7 separate regions of the Homo sapiens genome follow, and regions 1, 2, 4, 5, 6 and 7 are each linked to region 3. The links are contacts of gene promoters, found by promoter capture Hi-C in blood cells and fetal thymus (Javierre and others, 2016). All regions are on one chromosome and are shown on one strand. Each heading gives the region's core, a stretch centred on a gene start or on the middle of the fragment in contact. The rest is flanking DNA. Distances are from core to core; before and after follow the strand shown. Region 1 holds the start of INPP5E (inositol polyphosphate-5-phosphatase E). Region 2 holds the start of AGPAT2 (1-acylglycerol-3-phosphate O-acyltransferase 2). Region 3 holds the start of NELFB (negative elongation factor complex member B). Region 4 holds the start of C9orf163 (chromosome 9 putative open reading frame 163). Region 5 holds the start of PMPCA (peptidase, mitochondrial processing subunit alpha). Region 6 holds the start of CARD9 (caspase recruitment domain family member 9). Region 7 holds the start of DIPK1B (divergent protein kinase domain 1B).

The links. The method cuts DNA at HindIII sites, captures the fragments that hold promoters and counts their contacts. A CHiCAGO score of 5 or more calls a contact.
Region 1: a contact is called between the fragment with the promoter of INPP5E here and the fragment with the promoter of NELFB in region 3, in 10 of 17 cell types (activated CD4 T cells, total CD8 T cells, total B cells and 7 more). The highest score is 19.5, in activated CD4 T cells.
Region 2: the fragment with the promoter of AGPAT2 here is called in contact with the fragment with the promoter of NELFB in region 3 in 5 of 17 cell types (total CD8 T cells, total B cells, total CD4 T cells and 2 more); the score reaches 9.6 in total CD8 T cells.
Region 4: a contact is called between the fragment with the promoter of C9orf163 here and the fragment with the promoter of NELFB in region 3, in 1 of 17 cell types (non-activated CD4 T cells). The highest score is 5.6, in non-activated CD4 T cells.
Region 5: a contact is called between the fragment with the promoter of PMPCA here and the fragment with the promoter of NELFB in region 3, in 1 of 17 cell types (M0 macrophages). The highest score is 5.6, in M0 macrophages.
Region 6: a contact is called between the fragment with the promoter of CARD9 here and the fragment with the promoter of NELFB in region 3, in 1 of 17 cell types (activated CD4 T cells). The highest score is 6.6, in activated CD4 T cells.
Region 7: the fragment with the promoter of DIPK1B here is called in contact with the fragment with the promoter of NELFB in region 3 in 1 of 17 cell types (total CD8 T cells); the score reaches 5.4 in total CD8 T cells.

The regions. Positions count from the first base shown.
Region 1 is chr9:136,438,502-136,441,201 of GRCh38, reverse strand. It overlaps INPP5E (inositol polyphosphate-5-phosphatase E), which reads left to right and starts at 1,357. Exons shown (of 10, transcript NM_019892.6): 1 at 1,357-2,594. The coding sequence starts at 1,783. SEC16A (SEC16 homolog A, endoplasmic reticulum export factor) reads left to right here. Exons shown (of 32, transcript NM_014866.2): 32 at 1-1,097. RefSeq lists silencers at 1,199-1,398, 1,449-1,628, 1,689-2,178 and enhancers at 1,251-1,884, 1,885-2,519, 2,469-2,578, 2,520-2,700. The HindIII fragment of the contact is 4,062 bases long and covers 1,014-2,700 here.
Region 2 is chr9:136,686,162-136,688,962 of GRCh38, reverse strand. AGPAT2 (1-acylglycerol-3-phosphate O-acyltransferase 2) reads left to right here and starts at 1,506. Exons shown (of 6, transcript NM_006412.4): 1 at 1,506-1,787. The coding sequence starts at 1,606. RefSeq lists silencers at 780-859, 1,330-1,529, 1,750-2,319 and an enhancer at 2,040-2,801. The HindIII fragment of the contact is 21,227 bases long and covers 1-2,801 here.
Region 3 is chr9:137,254,018-137,256,809 of GRCh38, reverse strand. NELFB (negative elongation factor complex member B) reads right to left here and starts at 1,483. Exons shown (of 13, transcript NM_015456.5): 1 at 1,199-1,483; 2 at 740-903; 3 at 382-481. The coding sequence starts at 1,444. It also overlaps a transcript of CIMIP2A not described here. RefSeq lists enhancers at 180-1,127, 1,128-2,075 and silencers at 1,086-1,145, 1,186-1,365, 1,376-1,745, 1,936-2,115. The HindIII fragment of the contact is 15,726 bases long and covers 1-2,792 here.
Region 4 is chr9:136,482,219-136,484,974 of GRCh38, reverse strand. It overlaps C9orf163 (chromosome 9 putative open reading frame 163), which reads right to left and starts at 1,480. Exons shown (of 1, transcript NR_172629.1): 1 at 1-1,480. It overlaps SEC16A (SEC16 homolog A, endoplasmic reticulum export factor), which reads left to right and starts at 1,935. Exons shown (of 32, transcript NM_014866.2): 1 at 1,935-2,037. RefSeq lists silencers at 823-1,252, 1,403-1,582, 1,653-1,762, 1,993-2,312 and enhancers at 552-1,296, 2,042-2,756. The HindIII fragment of the contact is 6,891 bases long and covers 1-2,756 here.
Region 5 is chr9:136,409,249-136,411,948 of GRCh38, reverse strand. PMPCA (peptidase, mitochondrial processing subunit alpha) reads right to left here and starts at 1,291. Exons shown (of 13, transcript NM_015160.3): 1 at 1,210-1,291. The coding sequence starts at 1,280. ENTR1 (endosome associated trafficking regulator 1) reads left to right here and starts at 1,335. Exons shown (of 10, transcript NM_001039707.2): 1 at 1,335-1,621; 2 at 1,710-1,859. The coding sequence starts at 1,552. RefSeq lists enhancers at 1,053-1,102, 1,133-1,222, 2,073-2,232 and silencers at 1,433-1,522, 1,663-1,712. The HindIII fragment of the contact is 5,612 bases long and covers 444-2,700 here.
Region 6 is chr9:136,372,323-136,375,115 of GRCh38, reverse strand. CARD9 (caspase recruitment domain family member 9) reads left to right here and starts at 1,447. Exons shown (of 13, transcript NM_052813.5): 1 at 1,447-1,584. RefSeq lists enhancers at 552-1,265, 1,285-1,579. The HindIII fragment of the contact is 14,070 bases long and covers 1-2,793 here.
Region 7 is chr9:136,711,292-136,714,048 of GRCh38, reverse strand. It overlaps DIPK1B (divergent protein kinase domain 1B), which reads right to left and starts at 1,477. Exons shown (of 5, transcript NM_152421.4): 1 at 1,321-1,477. The coding sequence starts at 1,383. RefSeq lists an enhancer at 1-814. The HindIII fragment of the contact is 2,091 bases long and covers 4-2,094 here.

The DNA of each region.
Region 1 (2,700 bases), core at 108-2,607, 820 kb after region 3:
TCCGAGGAGCCGTGGGGTTCCTTCGGCATTAGTTCACGGTTTTTGAGAGAGGCCTTAGTTACTGCAGTGAATTTCTTTCCTGTTGCAAAGACGCTTCCAGCCTCACTTTACTTTCTGTGGCCTGATGAGGACCATGGGTGATTTTGTGTACCCAAAGCGCTGGGGACTGCCCACCGTGTGGCCCAGTCACTGGGAAGGAGCCCCAGAGAGCCGGCTGTCTGACATGATGGCTCAGGGTGGTCATCCAGGTTGAAAACTGACCGTGTGATGTTTGATTTGGGCTTCATTTCGTGTGTAGGAGCACGGTTAGACTCACTGTTAAGGAAGCTGGATGCACTTCTCTAAAAGGCTGCACTTTCCGTGAGCACTTTTCGTGGTACAATCCACATGACCCACTTTCTCCCCTGGGGGACGTTGGTTCAGAGGTTGGTAGCACTTGGGGAGAGTATCTTAACACAGTTTCTTGACAGCAGCTCTGGAACTTAGTATTTCTGCCCCGAGTTTTGCCACACTGAGACTTTGAGTAGCTCCTGGTGGACTCAACCCTGTTCAACTCAGAGACGGGCCTCCTCTCACTGATGCAAAGCTTTAAGGCTTCTCTGACTGTTCTGAAACTCTTCGTATTCTTGTCAAGTCTAAAGAGACTGAAGAAAAGATTTAAATACTAATAAAAATCAGTAGATAATTTCTGTAGGTTCTGCTGGAGGAATACAAACTGTTTGGTGTTTTAAATTTAAGTGTAGAAATTGTAGAATGTGGAATTAGCACAGATCCTTCCTGGCTTTCTGTTTCACTTGATCATTTAGCCCAGACCACCCAGGATGTTTTCCAAAATGTTCCACAGGCGTGTCCCGCTGGATCCATTTGTCCTTGTCACTTGGAGAAAGGCCAGTCCCTGTGACGGGGCAGCCCTCTCTGTCCCTCGGTCAGCTCGTGTGAATCCTGGGACCTCTTCCGGTCGGCTCTGCCCGCTGTTCTGGGGTCGACTGCCACGACTTTTGATTCAAGAAGCTTCCTCCAGGCGGGAGCGGCTATTTTTCCTAAATGAGAATTGTTACATTGCAAATTGTTGAATAAAATATTTTGCGCTCCTTCAAGCACCTTCACCTGTGGTTCCCTTTGGTTTGCTGGAAGCGAGTGAGTGCAGGTGTCCGCAGGCCTCGGCGCTGTCCTGGACCGCACCCAGGTCCTCTCCGGGGACCTGCACCTGCCTCGCTGGGACCTGCCGGACTGCGGGGCTGCCGGGTTGGGAGGGGCGTGGGAGACCCGTCCGGGTCCGGTGCGGCGCAGTCCTCCGGCCGCCAGGGGCCGCTGTGGGCGGGGCCGGGGCGCGGGGCGGGGACCGGGCGCGGCCCCGCGGCGGCGGTTGCTGGGTCCCGGCCGGGCTGACTCCGCTTCTGGGCGGCCGGGCCTCCGCGAGTACCGGGTCGACTTCGGAGTCTGCGAGCCCAGCCAGGGGTGCCCGCTTCCCACCCCTCTCCCCGAGCGGCGTCCCCGTCGGGGTCGAACCTCCCCCGCGACAGGCGCCCAGCCGCCTGTTCCCCCAGGCCTTGCCTGCGGACCGCCCTGGGAACGGCGTCTGGGAGCCCCGAGGGGCTGGCGGGACTCGGGGCCCGGGCCATGCGGCAGCCGCCCCCGCCCCTCCGCGACCATCCCCGGCCCAAGCGGGAGCCGCAGCGGCGTTTCTGCTCCTCGCTGCGCCGGCGACCCCGGACCCGGCACCCGTGACCCCTCGCGCTGCCTGCGGCCTCGCGCCGAGGCCTGCCCCGGGAGAGACCGTCCATGCCGTCCAAGGCGGAGAATCTGCGGCCCTCCGAGCCGGCCCCGCAGCCGCCGGAAGGGAGGACGCTCCAAGGACAGCTTCCCGGCGCTCCGCCGGCCCAGCGCGCGGGGTCCCCACCCGATGCTCCGGGCTCCGAGAGCCCCGCGCTTGCCTGCAGCACTCCGGCCACGCCCAGCGGCGAGGACCCGCCAGCCCGAGCAGCACCCATCGCCCCGCGGCCCCCCGCCAGGCCTCGACTGGAGCGAGCCCTGTCCCTGGACGACAAGGGCTGGAGGAGGAGGCGTTTTCGAGGCAGCCAGGAGGACCTGGAAGCCCGGAATGGGACCAGTCCCTCCAGGGGCTCAGTGCAGAGCGAGGGCCCCGGGGCCCCCGCCCACAGCTGCTCCCCGCCCTGCCTGAGCACCTCCTTGCAGGAAATCCCCAAGTCCCGCGGGGTCCTGAGCAGTGAGAGAGGGAGCCCGTCCTCGGGGGGTAACCCTCTCTCTGGGGTGGCCAGCAGCTCCCCGAACCTCCCGCACAGAGACGCCGCCGTGGCGGGGAGCTCGCCCAGGCTGCCCAGCCTGCTGCCCCCGCGCCCACCGCCTGCCCTGAGCCTGGACATCGCCTCCGACTCCCTGAGGACAGCAAACAAGGTCGACTCGGATCTTGCAGACTACAAGCTCCGCGCGCAGCCGCTCCTGGTGCGGGCCCACAGCAGCCTGGGCCCCGGCCGGCCGCGGAGCCCCCTGGCCTGCGACGACTGTTCCCTTCGCTCGGCCAAATCCTCCTTCAGCCTCCTGGCGCCCATCCGCAGCAAGGACGTCCGCAGCAGGTAGGGAGGGCCTGGCGGGTGCAGCGCCCGCGCCGCCTTCGTTGTAGTGTTCAGGCTGCTGGAACCTCGTGAGACCGTTCCCATCAGCAGCGTTTAAGATGCCTAA
Region 2 (2,801 bases), core at 257-2,756, 570 kb after region 3:
CTCGGGACCTGGGTGCACAGAGCCTCCAGCTGAAGGTGCTGTGAAGCCCCACTCCTCCAGGAAGTCCACCTGGGACCCCAGCCCACACCCCCGCATCCCCCAGCTCCCGGCAGCGGCACTCCTGTCTGCAGGGTGCACCCACCTCATCTGCCCTGGAAGATGAAAACCCCGCAGCCGTCAGCAGCCACCTCTCAGCCTCTCAGAGGCACAGCAGTGCAGCTCTCAGACCTCCCGGCTGCGGGGTGTGCAGTTCCGGCTCCAAGCGTGGAAAGAGGTCAAGCCAGGCCCTCCAAGCTGATTCCAGATGAAGCCCATATGGATCTGGAAGGAGACTGGGCTGGAAAATGCTCTCCTGGGTTTCGCTGTAAGATGCCTACAGGCCTAAGGCAAAAGGATGTGTCTCCACTTTCAAGAAAAGCTGGGACCGCCTGGGCAGGGGCTGCTGAGCCCAGGCAGCGAGACCCCACGTCCTTCAGGACCGCAGTTCCCCATTCATTTGAAGAGCAGTTTCTGTATTTGTCATTCTCTCAGTACAGTTTGGGGGGTGGTTACAATGTTCAGGGAAATGTTTTAACAGCTCAACTCTGCATCTGAAAAAAGAGGGGCCGTGCTCCCCTGCTGACCCGTTAGAGCGCAGGGCGGCCAGCACTCCCGCAACTGCAGCAAACCCAAGAGTCCCTATGAGGAGGGACCCCAGGAAACTGCTTTTCAATCTCCATCTGCTCCCTGAGGTGGGACGCCGGGTGGGGGCCGGGCCAGGTGACTGCTGCCCTTGTCCCAGCTGCACCTTGCCCTGCCACGCTGGCCGTGCTGCCAAGCGGATGTGAACGCCGCCACCTGACACCCACCTCGCCTGCCCCCGGAGCGTCCCTGGTGACAAGGCTACTTCTGGCACCCAGGGTGGGGCAACCCAGCCCCGCCCAGACACACGCCCCAGTTGGCCTGCGCGCCCCCACGAGTCTCCCCGCAGGGGACCGAGAACACCCTAAGAGCCAGGCTTTCTGCCAGGTGGCCACTGGTCACTCGGGGGCGGTTCCGGCGGCCCTTTGCGTGGCCACCGGCCTGGCACGGGCGCATCCCCGCTGGTTTTACGCCCTTGGGGAGCTGTGGTTCTGCGCGCGGGAGCCTGTGGCTGCCCCGGCAGCGGGGGGAGGGGGCACCGGGCGGGGCAGGAGGCCCAGACCATGGGGGGCAGCGCCAGAGCCCGAGCCACCGGCAAGCCATGATGGGGGGGTCCCCTGGGACCGGGAGGGTGGGAGCAGAGCGCCAGAGCCTCGGTAACCTGGCAGAAGGCTGTGGGGAGGGAGCGTGGAGGGGAGGTCCGGGCCGGGTGACCCAGGGCGGGAAGGGGGGGCCGTGTCGGGGCGGGGTTGGGGACAGTGGCGGGGCGGGGCCTGGTGAGGGGACCGTGTCGGGGCGTTGTTGGGGACAGTGTCGGGGCGGGGCGCCGCACCTAGCCCTTCCCTGCCGCGCGCTCCTCCCCCACGCCGCGCCCCGCCCCGCCCAGCCCCGCCGCCCTCGCAATAAGGGGCCTGAGCGCGCGGGGGAGAAGCGGGAGCGGGAGCGGGAGCGAGCTGGCGGCGCCGTCGGGCGCCGGGCCGGGCCATGGAGCTGTGGCCGTGTCTGGCCGCGGCGCTGCTGTTGCTGCTGCTGCTGGTGCAGCTGAGCCGCGCGGCCGAGTTCTACGCCAAGGTCGCCCTGTACTGCGCGCTGTGCTTCACGGTGTCCGCCGTGGCCTCGCTCGTCTGCCTGCTGCGCCACGGCGGCCGGACGGTGGAGAACATGAGGCAAGGCCGGGGGCCGCCGGGAGGGGCCGGGGAACCGCCGCGCCGCTTCCGCTTCCCTAACTTTCTTCTGGGCTTCCCTCCTTCCTGCCCCGCCCGTCCCGCCCCGCTCCGGGGCTCCGGGGAGAGCGCGCCTGGGCCGGCGGCAGGCACAGGAGGGGGTCCCGGAGTCAGGGGGTCCCGGAGTCACGGGGTCAAGGAGCCGGCGTCACAGTGCCCAGCACCCCACCCCCCGCCCTGGCCCCGGGCGTCTACACCGGTTTCGGCCTCCGCCGCGTCCCTGCAGCCCGGCGTGGGGTTCCGGGGGTGGAGCAGCTTTCGGAGAGAAAGGGGGCCGGTCCGCGCTGGGAGAGGCTCAGCCCTGCTTCCTGAGCGGGGAAACCGAGGCCGGGGCGGCGGGGACTTGCCCCAGGGCTATTGATCAGGGCGCACGACGGCGTGGGGGCACCCCTCGGCCTCCCTCCGACCCCCTCCTGACTGTCCGCCCGGTGATGGGCGCACCTGTGGGGCGGGTTCCCCTTTCTCTCCCTTTCCTCTTCGCAGGGAGGTGGGGGACCCGGAGGGGACCTGCTTCCGTGCTGGGGAGCGCGCCCCTGGCCTACAGCTCCGGGGGCCCAGCTTCCAAGCGAAGGGAAGGAAGAGTTAGGACTAGGGTTCGGCGGGGCTGAAATTTTCCCCTGGACGCCTTCCAGAAGGTGGGAGCTTGGTTTTGCCAGGCTGGGGTTGGGGGCCAGAGGTCAGACTGGGCTGCCAAAGACGGCGGGGGCTGCCTGCTCCTGGGCGGGGTGGCTGCTGGAGAAGGCTCTTGCCTGCCCCCTCTCCCTGTTAGCCGTCCCCAGGCTGTTGCTACATTTCTCCCTGCCCTGTTTGGACTGCCCAGCCAGTGGCTTTTGCAATGGCCTGGGGTGGGGGCATTGTGGCCCCAGAGGCCCCCTTCCCCGTGGTTCCAGGGGCAGTGGGTGAGGGTTTGCTAGCTCCCTGCACTCGCTGTCCTTGCCAGCCCTGGGAGGGCACTGA
Region 3 (2,792 bases), core at 234-2,733:
AGGCTGCCTGTGAGTGGCACCTGTGTCCCTGGGTCTCCTTCAAGACAAGCCAAGAGGCCTCAGCCCCGCAGAGACCACCTCGAGCTAAGCTCCACCCCACAGGGCACCTATGACTGGTTCCCCGGCCCCAGCATGTCAGACAGACATGCTAAATACCAACAGCTCTTTCCCAGGAGGGGCCCCACACCCTAACTCCAGTGCTAAGGTTCGGTCTCCACGCGGCTCATGTGGGAGAAGTCAGCACAGAGCTCACCATGGACAGCACTTGGGCAGGCAGCACAGGAAGCTCCCGGAGCTAGGCGGCCACCGGAACTTCCACTAACCAAGGGCATGAGAGTGGGCGGACGGTCCACGCCATCAGGGTTAGGGTTAGGGCCCTACCTTGGGCAGGTGCTTCATGACGCACATCACCACGGGCTGCAGGGACGGCATCTTCACCAGAGAAAAGCTCTTCTCCAGAAGGTCTTCCAGCTTCTTGTACCTGGAACAACTCACAGGATTGATGGTGCAGCGATGCGCCAAATCGCAGCAGCTACCTGCCTGTCCCTACACAGATAACAGCTACCAGGACAAGCCTCCACGCCCAGGACACATGGGTCAAGGGGTCACTCAGACACAGGCCCAGGCCACCTCTGGGAGCAAGGATGTGGAGCCAAAAGGACAATAAATGCCCCTGAGTCGATCCAAGGCTGAGAGGCCGGCTGCACATCTCACCTGCCCACCCCTCCCGCTGACCCACCTTTCCTCAGCCTTCCCCTCCGAAGCGATGGCTGACACTCGCTCCAGCAGCTTGTCCCGCAGCTCATCGAATACCGACTGGTGGAACTCCAGCCGCGGCGTCCCGTGCAGGTCCAAGAAGGGGAGGGCTGACTGAAGAGATGGCAGCAGCACACCATTCTCTGTCTGAGGAAGCCAAGAGAAACCTCAAACGCAGCCCAGTGCGCCCGGGCACCCCGAGGTCCTGAGAGCACAGGGAGGCACGCACCCAGGTGTTCCCAGCCGTGCTGGCGGTAACCGCAGCCACCGAAAGCCACCCAGCCGTCCAGCAAAGGGGTGCTGGCTCCGGACTCCACCCCCAGAACAGGACTCAGCCACCAGCAGAAAGCCGGAAAACTTCCGGCGCCTCCGCCAGGCCCGACTCCCGAGCAGGCGGCCCGGCCCTCCAACTGGGCTCCCCCCGCCCCGGGGGCCGCCCCACCTGGAACTGCTCGATGGCCTTGAGCGGCTCCGTGCAGTTGGTCAGGGTCTCCTTCAGGTCCTCGCCGTTGGCCACGCCCAGGTCCTGCAGCCCCGCGAACATGGCCGAGGCCCCGGCCACCGCCCGGCTAGGCGCCCCATCCCCAGCCCGTTCCCCCGGCGCCGCCGCAGACACCCCAGAAGCCCGCTCCGCCGGGCCTCGGGGACCGCCCGAGCCCCGCTCCCCGGCGCCCTCCAGCTCGGCCAGGTCCCGCCCGCCGCGCGACTCCGCGCGCGTCCCGCAGCCGCCCACTTCCGCCCCGCACCGCCCAGGTCCGCCCGCCAACCGGCCCCCGGGAAACGCCGCCGGGGCCGCGCGCAGGTTCCTGGGAGCAGCGCCCTCACCCGGCGCGAGAGACCCCGCCCAGCCAGCCCAGCGCGCATGCGCCCACCCGGTCCCGCCCGCGCCCGGGCTTTCTGGCAGAAGAGGGCGGGTGAGGGCGTGGGGGGCGGACTCAGGGTCCGTCTGCTCCGGGAACGGACGTCGTCGCAGCCGAGTGAATTTCGTGTACATAAGCGTGGAAAACGCTCTTGCAGATCTCGCGGCAGCCACGCGCAGCGGGGACGTTTTGCCGGGGGTTGAGCTCCCCGCCCCTCTGCCCCGCAGGGGCCGGACACAGGCGCAGACTCCCTCCTGAGCGTGGGTTCCTCCGCGTGAAACGGGCACGAAGCCCACCCCGGCGCTGTCGCCAAAACTGAGATCTGAGCGCCTTCAGGGGGCCGGGGCCTGGCGGAGACCGGGCCCGCAGCGGGAGCGCGAGCGACGGCCGCCCTCCCAGGCACCGGGAGGCTGTGGCGCCCACCGAGCTCCGCGGAGCCGTGAAGGAGAGTCCAGGTTCCACAGTGTCCCTTCTTATCCCAGGCGGGTGGGCTCCCCGGGCCTCCCCGCCTCTCCAGCCCGCCGCCCTCCCGCAGGCTGTGCCGCGCCAAGCCCCCTACACACACCCTCTCTCTTTTCGGTCTCCGCTGCTGAAATTTTCTCTAGAAATTTCTTTCCCGCTGCCCAGCAAACTCTTGCTCTTCCTTGAAGGCTTCTTCCTCCACCACCTCCTCCAGGAAGCCCTCCCTCCTCAGCCCAGCTGGAGGAGATCGCTCCATCTTTCCTGCCGCTCCCACTCCTAGCTTTGGGTCTCACCAGGGGTGCCTGGTGGTGCAGCCGTGAGCAGAGCTCCTGTTCCCACAAGCCGGGCCGAGCTCCCAAGGCCATGGCTACCACAGCTCTCTTGCCGCTGGCCAAGTTGGTCAGCCCTAGGGCGAGGGTTCCAGTGCCTTGATCCAACCCCCAGCTGGTTCGGTGGCAGAGGAGGACAAGGGTCACAGCACACACACAATCCTGAGCCTGGGATTCCTCTCTGAGAAAGGGGGTGGTGCTGAGGCCACAGAAGCAGCTGCCCAGAGCCTTTTTGAAGGGGTTGAGCTCTGGGCCTGGTCTGGGTCCTGGGTCTGGGGAGGACCTGGGGAGGTGCGGGTGACGGCACCGCAGGTAAGGCTCCTGCAAGGTGGCAGCCTTGGGGCCCGACCCTGGGTAGGAGGGCAGGCCAGTGATGACAAGGGAG
Region 4 (2,756 bases), core at 231-2,730, 770 kb after region 3:
TCGCGAGCGGCAAAAGGCGAGCCCCACGCCTGAGAGGCAGCATCCACCTCTGCATCCCCCTCTTTGGAAAGGGCAAACAATGACACCTCCTTCCGCGGAGGGTGCAGAGCGCCTCGACCACTGGGAAGAAGCAGATGGGGGCAGCGGGGCTGGGGCTGGGCCCTACCACGTGCTCCCTAACTCTGTTCAAACAGGTCAGGAATCTGACTCCTGAAAGGCAAATGTTAGCTGAGCAGATTGGCCCTGGTGCCACGTCAGCCGGACTGAAGCTCTCCCTGCACCGCCTGCGGCCCTGCTGGCGTGGCACGGATATCACCCCCTCCCTCACCAGCCGCCGGCCCAGCTGGGGACAAGGGTGGCTCCCACCCAGGGAGGACCTCAGCCGCTGCTGGGAGCTCAGCCTCCCGCGATGCCATCGGGCGGGCACCCCCACCACGGCGCCTGCCCTCTGGAAGGAGCAGCAGAGGAAGGCCGCGGCTCTTCCCTGCCCTTGCCAGGCAGGTGTGCAGGTGAGTGGGCCCGGCATGGCTGGCCGCTTCCTCAACCGCTCAGCCTCCCTCGGCTCCTCCGAAAAATGAGGGCACAGAGGATAGTGCCCACCTGTTCCCTGCGATCTTCCGCGGGAGGGCGTGGATGCTGCCTGGCCTGGCCGTGGCAGGCACAGGAGCGCCTACCCGCCTCACCCCTCCGCTGGGTCGCTCTGGCCGCCCGAGCGCCCGGGCCCACTCGCCACCGACGTGCACTCAGCCAAGGCTGGGACCCCAGCGCCCCTGTGGGGCTGGCGGCCGGGGGAACGAACCGAGTAGGCCGCACCTCCCCGGGAGGACAGCAGGGCTGGGGCCAGGGTGGGCCTGGGAGGGCCCGGCGCAGCAAAGGCGCAGGGCGGAGCTTGGGGACGAGGAGCCCGCGCGTCCCCCTTGCGAGTCGGCGGACACCCGGCTCCGCGCGGTGGCCGGGCCGCCCCTCCCTGCCCGGGCCTCTGTGCAGAGCGAAGGGACAGTAGAGGATGCGTCGGGGAAACCCCAGGACGCTGGCCAGGGACTGGCGGCAGCCATCGACCAACTTCCGGCGCCGCTCGGTGCCCGCGGCCACGCCGTAACCAGGCAACCAGCGCGCAGGCGCAGTCGGCCCTCCGCGTCCCGCAGCTCCGGCCGCTCCCGGCGCATGCGCGGCCGCCGCCGCCTGCCCTCCAGCCTCCCAGCCCAACGGAAGAATGCGAGGAGCGCGCCCGCGTCAGGGCCCCGCGCTTCTCAGCTGGGCGGAGTAGCCGTTCTCGGTGCGTGAGCCTGCTGGCATCGGTCCTGCAGACTGATTTCCCGCTTGTGGCCTTGATTGAAGAATCCCATCTCTTCTCACATCTTAAAACGAAAAAAGACTGGGAGAAAGAGCCAGCGTAAACAGGGCGACGTACTGGGACGGCCCCGGCGCGCCTGGCCGGGCAGGTGGCGAGGGGCGGGGCCAAGCGGTGAGGCGGCAGACGGACGCCGGAGGGGGGCGGGGCCACGGGCGGGGAAGGACGGCCGAGGGGCGGGGCCAAAGGGGCGGGAACGACAGGATGAGGCGGAGAAAGACGGACGACGGGCGGGGCTAAGGGGGCGGGACGAAAGAATGAGGCGAGGAACGACGGAAGAGGGGCGGGGCCAAGGGGAGCGGGAACTACAGGATAAGGCGTGGAAGACGGGCGGGGGGCGGGACGAAAGAATGAGGCGGGGAAGAACGGACGCCGGCGAGGGGCGGGGGCAGAGGGGGCGGGACAGAGGGATGAGGCGGGGAGGACGGACGCCGGCGAGGGGCGGGGCCGAGGGATGGGCTGTGAAGGGCTGAAAGAGAACGCGTCTGGGCCGACGAGCCGAGGGGCGGGGCCAGGGGCGGGGCGCGCGCTGATGTCGTAAGCCGGACACGTCGGCGGCGCGGCGGCCGCGGAGACCCGAGCCGGATGTGCCAAGATGGCTGCGGCGGCTGAGGTGTCTGTGCTCGTCGCCAGCGTCGGGTGGGCTTTCGCCCGCGGCTCCTGAGGGATCGGTCTCAGCCGCGCGGGTGAGGGGGCGAGCGCGGGTGAGGGGGCGAGCGCGGGAGGAGGAAGGCGGAGGCCGGCCGGCGGAGCCAGGCCGTGGAGGTCGGGGCGCGGAGGAGAGGAGGCGGCTGGGCCCAGCCCCGAGCGGGCGGTGCATCTCGGGTCCCGCCGGGGCCGGTCGAGGGGACAGACGTCCGGGCCCCCGGGCCAGAGCGGAAGGCCGGACGCGGCGCGGGCCGCCGTGGGACTCGAGGGACTGACGTGGACCCGGCTGGGCTGCGGTGACGCCGGTTCCCGGGGCGGGAGGCTGGACCCCCAGGCACCCCTCGTAAGACTCTTAACTTTTCAAATGAGCGTGTCTTGTCCTCACCGGCTAGAAGGCTTCCTTAGCGATGCTGGTGAAGAGACACATTTACATTTGAACCAAAGAGCAGAGTTGTTTGTTTGTAATTTCTTGATTGGGCGATCAGGATGTTGCAACAGAGGCCGAGGGTTAGAGGAGTGTGTGTGATCCGGCTCGCCCCTTTGTGATGGAAGTGTTACAGTAGAGCCTTCAGAAACATCAGAGCCATTTAAAGTCAGTTTTTGCCGCTTAAGAACACTTTTAAATGGCTTGTAAGTTGGGTGTGGATTGTATATTAAGATTTTGTTTTACATGTGTGATGCCGATGTTAACCAAAGAGGTATTTCCCATCCCCCATGTGGCAATACGAAGCAAACGGAACCGCAGACGGTTCTTCCT
Region 5 (2,700 bases), core at 42-2,541, 840 kb after region 3:
CTGTGATGACCTGTTAGGTGCGGTTAGTTATGTTTTGTCTGGGTTAAAAGTGAGCATCTGCCTTTCTACAGGACTTATTTCTACAGACTTTGGAAGACAAAGCAGAGGCTGACAACAAAGGCTCAGCCACGGGACCTGGAGCAAGCTGGTTCCGTCCTTTGGGTCTTAGTTGCTATCTCTGTAAAAACAGGGCTTATTAACAGTAACTCACTCTAAGTGCAGTTTGTACACATAAAGCACTTAACAGCTCTGCCCTCCAACAGCACCACCGAAGTCTTGGATAAAAGCCATATCCCTTATTAACCTGGTCCGAAGGCGGGGTGTGACTTGGCCTCTGTCTCCCTCTCCAAACTCATCTCTTGAACCCCCACACTCCCATAGGTCCTGGTCACACTGATTCTTGTCAATTCCTGGAACACATTTGACTCATCAACCCCAAAGCTTCTTCACCGTTCCAGGGCTTGCCCTTTGCCCATGCCTACCCCTTCTTTCATTCTTCAGCTCTTCCCTTAAATGTCACCCTGATGGAGGACTATCCCTCACCAGTCTAGTCTTTCCTGCTATTTTCTATCATGAAAGGCTGCTTGTTTACTCCAAAGCATTTACGCGACTGCCGATATTTTGTTTACGCTCCAGCCTGTATCCATCTCCTGGAGGCAGCACCTCCGCACCCCTGAAACGGCGCTCGTTGTGTGGGGAGGGGCGACGCCTGTGCTGTCGGAACAAAGTTCCAGCGTGGGGAAAGGCAGGCCCGGTCACTTGGGTGGGAGGAGCGGTGGGTACGGAAAGGGTTCTTAAACGTCAGAGATCAACGGACAGACCGCAGCAACCGAGAGCCTGGACCCTGGTGTCAGAACCCTGCGGGTCTAACAGAGCTGGGCCCCCACCGGCTCAGCCTCCTGAAGGAGCACGCGGTAGGTGAAGCGCGGGGGCAAATATGAGGCATGGCCTCGGAGAAGGCCCGTCGACCCGGGAAGTGAGGGGGGGAGAGGACCCAGCAGCCGGGGAGAGGAGAGACAGATGGGACTGCGTCCCCGGGCTCGAGGCGCAAAGCAAGGCAGGGCCCCCGTCGCCTCGGGGACACCAGTGTCCCGAAGTGCGAGCCCGTCCCACGGGCGCCATGTCACCTGTAGAAACCGAAGACGGAGCGTCCAGAAAGACTCGAGCCGCCCCCGCCCCAGGCCGAAGCCTGGTTCGCCTTTGGCTCACCTCAGCCGCGAACAGCCCCAAGAACCCGAGCCCCGCAGCAACCGCGTCGCCGCCAGCACCACAGCCGCCATCTTGCGTCTCCGCCCCGCTTCAGTCGTCACTTCCGCTTCCGCCCACGGCTTCCCCTCCCCCTCGCCGACGGCCCAAGGCGTTCAGGCACGCGCTTTCGGTGCTCGGAGCGGAAGCAGCGGCGAGAGGCTCGGAGGCGCGGGGGCGGCCGAGCGGCGGGCGACGGGGGCGGGCGACGGGGGCGGGCGACGCGGGCCGCGGCACGGGCGGAGCCGGGGCCATGGAGCCGCCGCTGCCGGGCTAGGCAGGTCGTGCCCCGCCGGGCCGGCGGCGATGTCGGGCTACCAGCGCCGCCCGGGCGCCACCCCGCTGTCCCGAGCCCGGAGCCTCGCCATTCCCGACGGTGAGCGGGGCAGGGGCCGAGTCCAGCGGTCCAGGTGGGCGGCGGCCGCCCCGGCACGCAGTAAAGTCGCTGTTGTCGTTGCTTCCAGCTCCAGCGTTCTATGAGCGCCGGTCTTGTCTCCCCCAGCTAAATTGTGAGCGCCCCCATGGCAGGGACCTGGACTCCCCCTTCTTCGGCATTCGGCCGGCCTTTATGTGCTATGTGCCCAGCCCGGTGCTGGCTTCCGTGGGAGACACAGGTGAGAGACGAGGGCGCCGGCCCCGGGGACGCTTCCAGTTCCCGCGCCACGTGTGGCACCTCCGCTGCAGCACGAGCTCGTCCATTGACCCATCAATGTGCAGAGCGCTCACTGCGTGCCAGGCACTCGGAATTCAAAGGCGGAGTCCCCTGCTAGGAGCTCACAGTCTGGTTGCGGGGAGACCTCCCCCAAGACAGACAGTTCCAGTACAGGATGGTTAGTGCCCGGGGAGCACAGGAGCCCGCCCGCTTTCCTCGTGGGGCTGGAGTCGGGGTGCCTTCACCTAGTGGGCAGTGATTGGAAACCGAGCTGGAGCATTCCATCTGCCTCCACAGCCGGGCAGTGGCCAGATCTGGTTCGTCCTCGTTCTACCCAAGCAGAAGTGCTGCTGGGTGCCCGGGGTGTGCAGGAGTGTTTGTGTGGTTATGCCAGGATCTGAGGACATTCGGGGGTTGTCACAAGACAAGAGGACGCGCTTGCCCCGGCTGGGCTTCAAAATCTGCTGAGGAGCCGCTTTCAGACCACGGACACCAGGGCCAGTCTGCAAGTCAGGCCATCTCCAGGGTCACAAGTCTGGGAGCTTGTGTTTTTTTTAAAGTTTTCTCGGCTGACCGGGCGCAGTGGCTTACGCCTGTAATCCCAGCACTTTGGGAGGCCGAGGCAGGCGGATCATGAGGTCAGGAGATTGAGACCATCCTGGCTAACAGGGTGAAAACCCGTCTCTACAAAAAATACAAAAAAATTAGCCGGGCGTGGTGGCAGGTGCCTGTAGTCCCAGCTACTCGGGAGGATGAGGCAGGAGAATGGCGTGAACCCAGGAGGCGGAGCTTGCAGGGAGCCG
Region 6 (2,793 bases), core at 198-2,697, 880 kb after region 3:
GCAGCGCCCCCAGGCCCTTGGCTATCTGGGCTTCGATCCTTCACTGGAGCCACTGTGGGGCCTCAGCCCTGGGCACCTGGCAGACGGGACGGTCCCATGGCCGACCTCACTCCTGAGTATGTGTTGCTGTGCCTGGTTCTCTAGTCTGGTGCCTAGTCTGGGGGCCACTCTGATCTGTGGGTTATTTAGCGGTATATTATTTAATTTCCAAATATTTAGAGATTTTGCCGATATCTGTTACCGATTTTTAGCTTCCGATATGGTTAGAGAACATGGTATGTGTGTTCACTCCTAAGGACACACACCACAGGGAAGTCACTAAGGTCCGCGTTTTAAACGCTGGGGAAACACTGGGTCATGAGGGCCTGGTGCCAGCTCCGGTTCGCTCCCTGGCAGGGCCCAGGATGGCCCCGGCCTGCACACTCGCTCATGTTGATGGTGAGGGGTCCAGCAGGGGCACGGCCCCCTGGAATGTGGCATTCCCGAGAGCCCAGGAGGACCCCTAACTGTCCGCTCCTTAATGTGTGATGTCAGACGTTGTCCGCACAGAGGCCTGAGGGCTGGAGGCTGAGAACGGTTAGGCAAGCTCCACACCAGCTTCCTTGCCTTCCAGCCTGGCGGCCCCTTCTCGAACCTGTTGGGTGGCAACTCAGTTCAACCAGCTTTACCGGGTGAGGCGGGGCCTGGGGGTTCCCAAGCCTGCAGGGATGAGGCTCTGGCAGCCCACACGCTGAAGTGCACAGTTCAGGGCAGACTCTGCTGTCCGTTGTCCCTGGATGGGGGCCGAGCTGTGCCCTGCTGTCACCGGCTCTTCTGAAGCTGGTTTGGGGGACCCCGAGAGTGGCCTCAGTCCTCACATGCATCCTGGTGGAGAGCAGGGATGCCTCATGATGGGGATAACGAGGATAACGACACTTCTGGAAGGGACGTTTCTCCCCCGTGTGCAGCTGGGTGGTGGCCGATGCCATGGCCCCTGGCAGGCTGCTGTGGCCTCCTGGGCTCCATAAGGTGGGCTGCAGCCCTTCTGTGACCAAGGCGTGTGCTGGCCATGCCGTGTGGCTGTGTGCCCCCCTGCACATGCCCTGCCCCGCTGTCCTGAGATGCTGGCGAGGGCGAGGGTGTTCGCACAGAGCAAAGCATGCCTTACTGAAGAAGTCTCCAGAAGCCTGTGACCAGGTCAAAGTGGCTGGGTGCGGGCTGGCCTTGTCCAGCCCCCTGGGGGTCTCTGCTGTCTCTTCTACTTGCCAGGTGCCAGGGCTGGGCCTCTGGGGCATCCCCAGGACCCCCAGCCCCCGGCCAGGCTGGGAGGGCTGGGAGCAGCTTTCCTCTGGAGGGCAGCGGACTTCCACTTCCGTCTGCCTCTTGGGGCCTCCTGGGCTGGGCGAATCAGAAAGCAGGTCACCAGGGACTGTCCCCCTGTGGGAGGACTGGCGGGACTGTGGAGTTAAGCAGAACCCATCAGGAAGTGCACAGGCGTCCGGCGTGCTCCTCCCTCCCTGCAGCCCCGGGCAGCATCTCCCAGAGGCTCCGCGGCCCAGGCTCCTGGTGTGTCTGCAGTGCAGGTGGCTCCTGGAAGACCCTCAGGTGGGTGGGTCTGGTGCTTTCTGAAAGGTGGCCAGGAAGGTTGGCGTTGGCCTAGTTCAGGATCCTGGCACTGATCCCCCAGAGCAGCCTGAGGCTTCCCACAGGCAGCCAGGCAGCCTCCGCCATGCGGCCCCGTCCCTTTCACGGCCCCTGGGCGGAGATGTGTTCATTTCAGTGGAATTACGGTGGCAGATGGGACCCTGCATTTCAAGCTGGGGAAGCAGGAAAGGGGCCCAGTGTTCCCAGGACTGTCTACCGTGTGGCCAGTGTTTTTATTCAGTCCCTTGTCTGTCAAAACTGTCCTGAATGGGGTGACAAAGTGCAGCGGGAAGTTGAGAAATGCCTCAAAAGACCAAGCCTGGGGCAACTATGTCTCCAGGAGCAGTGACCCAGCTCCTCTGGGCTGGAAACCAGCGTTTCCCAGCGGGGCTGGAGGCTGTCTGAGGACCACGTGGCTGCTCCCAGCCTTGCCGCAGTCCCAGTCTCAGAGGGAGTGGCTTTCAGCGGCTGAGGCCCCCACCATGCTGGCAGAAAGGGACAGCAGTGGCTGGTCCCAACATGGGTAGTTCTGTTGCAGCCACTGGGATGGGGGCCGGGCCTCATCTGGGGCAGGAGAAGAGTCCAGGGATTCACTGGTGCCCGGCACCTCAACCTGGAGAAAACACCGCAGCAGCACTCCTGGCCAGCCAAGGGCAACACTGACAGCCCCTCCCAGGGTTGCGGGGCCGGCAGGGGGTGACAGAGACACGCTCCTGTGGGCAGCTCTTCCCGGCCAGTGCAGCGACCCCGCAGCTGCAGCAGGGCTGGGTGGCCACTCTTGCATCATCAGCAGCCGGCCGTGGAGGAGGGAGGGCACAGCCAGGGATGTGAGCAGGCGTCGGTCAGGGGAATGAGGAAGTCCCACAAGAACCGGCTCCCCCAGCTGCTGTGCTGGTGGGAGGGCCACTGGCCAACCTGCTCTCACCCAGCTTGGGCTGGCCATAGTGCCAGGCAGTTGCCCTCAGCTCCTCTGCCCATTCCAGCCATGGAGGTGGCTAACCTTGCAGGCTCCAGGGCGTGATGGGAGTGTCCAGGAGGCAGAGGCCAGAGGGGGTCATGCTGTAGGGGGAGTTCCTCTCTCAGACCCCATCTGTGCCTCCCCCGCTGCGTATCTGGGTGACATGGATGCCAACGGGCAGGAGCAAGGGCTGGGAAAGGCTGCGGAGGGGC
Region 7 (2,757 bases), core at 228-2,727, 540 kb after region 3:
GCTTGAGTGTGGAGGTGGCCCCACCATCCAGGACCTGGGCTGGGGCTTTGCAGGGGCAGGTGGGGACCAGCTCCCGGTGTAGCCACTTGGAGGATAGGGAAGGTCACCCAGGGGATGGGAACAGCACAGTGGTCCTCAGCCCAGCAGGCTCAGACCGTGGGCCAGGAGCCCCACAGCACTAACCCAGAAAAGCAGTTCACAAGGCCAGGAAACTGAGGCCCTCGCCACTAGAGGGGCAGGCTGGGCTCCCACCAGGGCTCTGGCCCCGAGCCAGCCACCCTGGGAGCAGCCAACACCCCTCTGCTGCCATTCCTGGGCGGAGCTCCAAGCATCAGCATCTCTTCTGCAGCTGCTGGTCGAGGCCTTTCCTCGGGGGAGGGGACCACTGTGCACCCCACCTCCCAGCGACTGGGGTGGTCCTCAGACCCCTTAGCTCTCACCCTGCCCCAAGGCTGAGCCGGGACCACCACAACCTGAAGCCCCAAGTGGGCACAGAGGGTCTCGCTGCAATCTGTGGGTTGCCAGGTTCCATACGCTCTTCCCAGAAGGGGAGCTGAGGCCAGCCAGGCCCTGAGCTCAGGCAGGACGCAGGCAGGGTTCCTCCTGCTGACCCAGGACCACCCTGCGGGGGCCGGGGAGATACAGGCAAATCTGACCAGGACTGGCGCCTCCGGCAGATGGCTGGGGTCCTGGAGGGTCTGGGAGGGCATCCCATCCGAGGCCGGGCCCCGGATGATTGGAGCCTGATGGGCCTGGCCTGCATCTCCCCAAAGCAGAAGGTGAAAGGGCTCCTGGCAGCTGGAACCCAAGGCGGCCCGGGCCTCCCCTGCGGACCCGGCCAGGCCCCTGGAGGGGACGGTGGTTCAAGGTCATCCCGGGGTCAGGGCAGGGTCCCCGCGCTACGGCTGGCTGATGGGATGAAGGGGCAGGGGGCGGGGAGGTCATGTCCTTGCCAGGGCGTTTCTGTGCGTCCCAAGTTTTCTACCGCAGAATAACACACCTCATTTTTTAAGTGGAGAAAAGAAGAAAGGACTTCGGTGTGGTTTCTGGGCCTGGGGGGCAGGGACCGCCTGCAGGTCGGGGCGAGGGCCTCCAGGCCGCAGCATCCCCGCGCCCGGACCCTCCTGTCGCCGCCACCGCCCCTCCCCCAGCGTCCCGTCCTTCCGGAGCCACTCGCCCCCTCCCCGCTGCCCACCCCGGGCTCATGAACCCTTCGTGTCCGAACCCGGGGCCCCGCTCCGTACTCGGCCCACTCCGGGGCTGGAGCTCGGCCTCCCCAGGCAGAGGCGGCCGGGGGCGGCGGGCGCGCACCGCGCTTACCTGCAGGCGCTTGGAGAAGGGGCAGAAGAGCACCAGGTGCGCCAGGCGCCGCAGCCGCCGCATGGTGGGCTCCGGCCGGGGCTGCGCGGGCCCCGCGGCTCGCTCGGCCTCAGCCCCGGCCCGGCCCGGCCCGCAGCGGCCGCCGCTCCCTCGCCATGCGGGCCGCGCGCCCCCGGGCCCGCGTTAAAGGCGAGGGCGCGCGCCTTTCTGTCGGCCGACGGCGGCGCGGCGGGGGCGCGCGGGGGAGGGTCGCGGCGGAGGCGCGCGGGGGCGGGGCTTGGCGCGCGGCCCGCCTTCGACCCCCGGCTCGGCTGAGGAGGGGGCGGGCACCGAGGCCCCGCCCACCCGCAGACCCCGCCCCTCATGCAACGGTGCTGCGGGAGGGGCTGGGGGCGCGCGGGATGGGCCGGGAGGCGGAGCCGGGGCCGGGGGCGCGCCTGTCGGGCTCCTGGGCGTCTCGGGGGCTCTTCCCACGCTGGAGAGAGGCCCCGTGCGCTACGCAGGCTGCGGGGTTCAGGGCTCCCCACGCGCGCCCCCGGTTCGAGGCCGCAGAGCCAGGGCTGGTCCTTCCCCTGGGTCCTCAGGATGGGGTCAGACGCGCGGAGCCCTGGGCTGGCCGAGCCTGCAGCCCGCCCCGGGGTCCGACCCTTCCCTCCTGGCTGAGACCCCGCGCCTTGGCCACTCGCCGGGAGGACACTTCCTTCGCCTCCGCGTGGGGTGCTCGGGGATGAGCCGTTGCCGCCTCCATAGGCAGGTTCCGTGTGAACAGAAGCTTTCATTGCACTTCGGTAAACACCTGGGGGGGCTGAGTTGGACGGTGAGGGATGTGGGGCGCAGCCAGCAGCTGCCAAGACTCGCTCCCTCCCCGCGGCCGCCGGCGCTTCCAGCTGCTCCGCATCCCGGGCGGCTCTTGCTATCGGCAGGTTTTTACATTTTAGCCATTTCCCTGGTGGTGGCGTCTCGCTGGGGCTGTGGTTCGCGTGTTTAACACACTTTCTGCGTGTTCAGTTACCACCTGTGTATCTTCTCCAAAGTCTATTCAAGTTTTTGACCATTAATAAAAATCACGTTGTTTCTTTATTATTAAGTTTTGAGACTTATTTACATTTTGGTTTTAATTTTTAATATCTAGAATGAGACTGGGTCTCAGTGTTTTGCCCAGGCTGGTCTCGAACTCCTGGGCTCAAGGGATCATCCTGCCTTGGCCTCCCAAAGTGCTGGGATTACAGGCATGAGTCACCTGGTGCCCAGCCAAGACTTTTTTTTTTTTTTTTTTTTGAGAGGGAGTCTTGCTATGTTGCCCAGGCCGGAGTGGTCTCAAACTCCTGGCCTCAAGTGATCCACCTGCCTCAGCCTCCTAAAGTGCTGGGATTACAGGCGTGAGTCACCATGCCTGGTCCGAGACTTCTTTATATCTTCTGGATATCTGCCCATTAT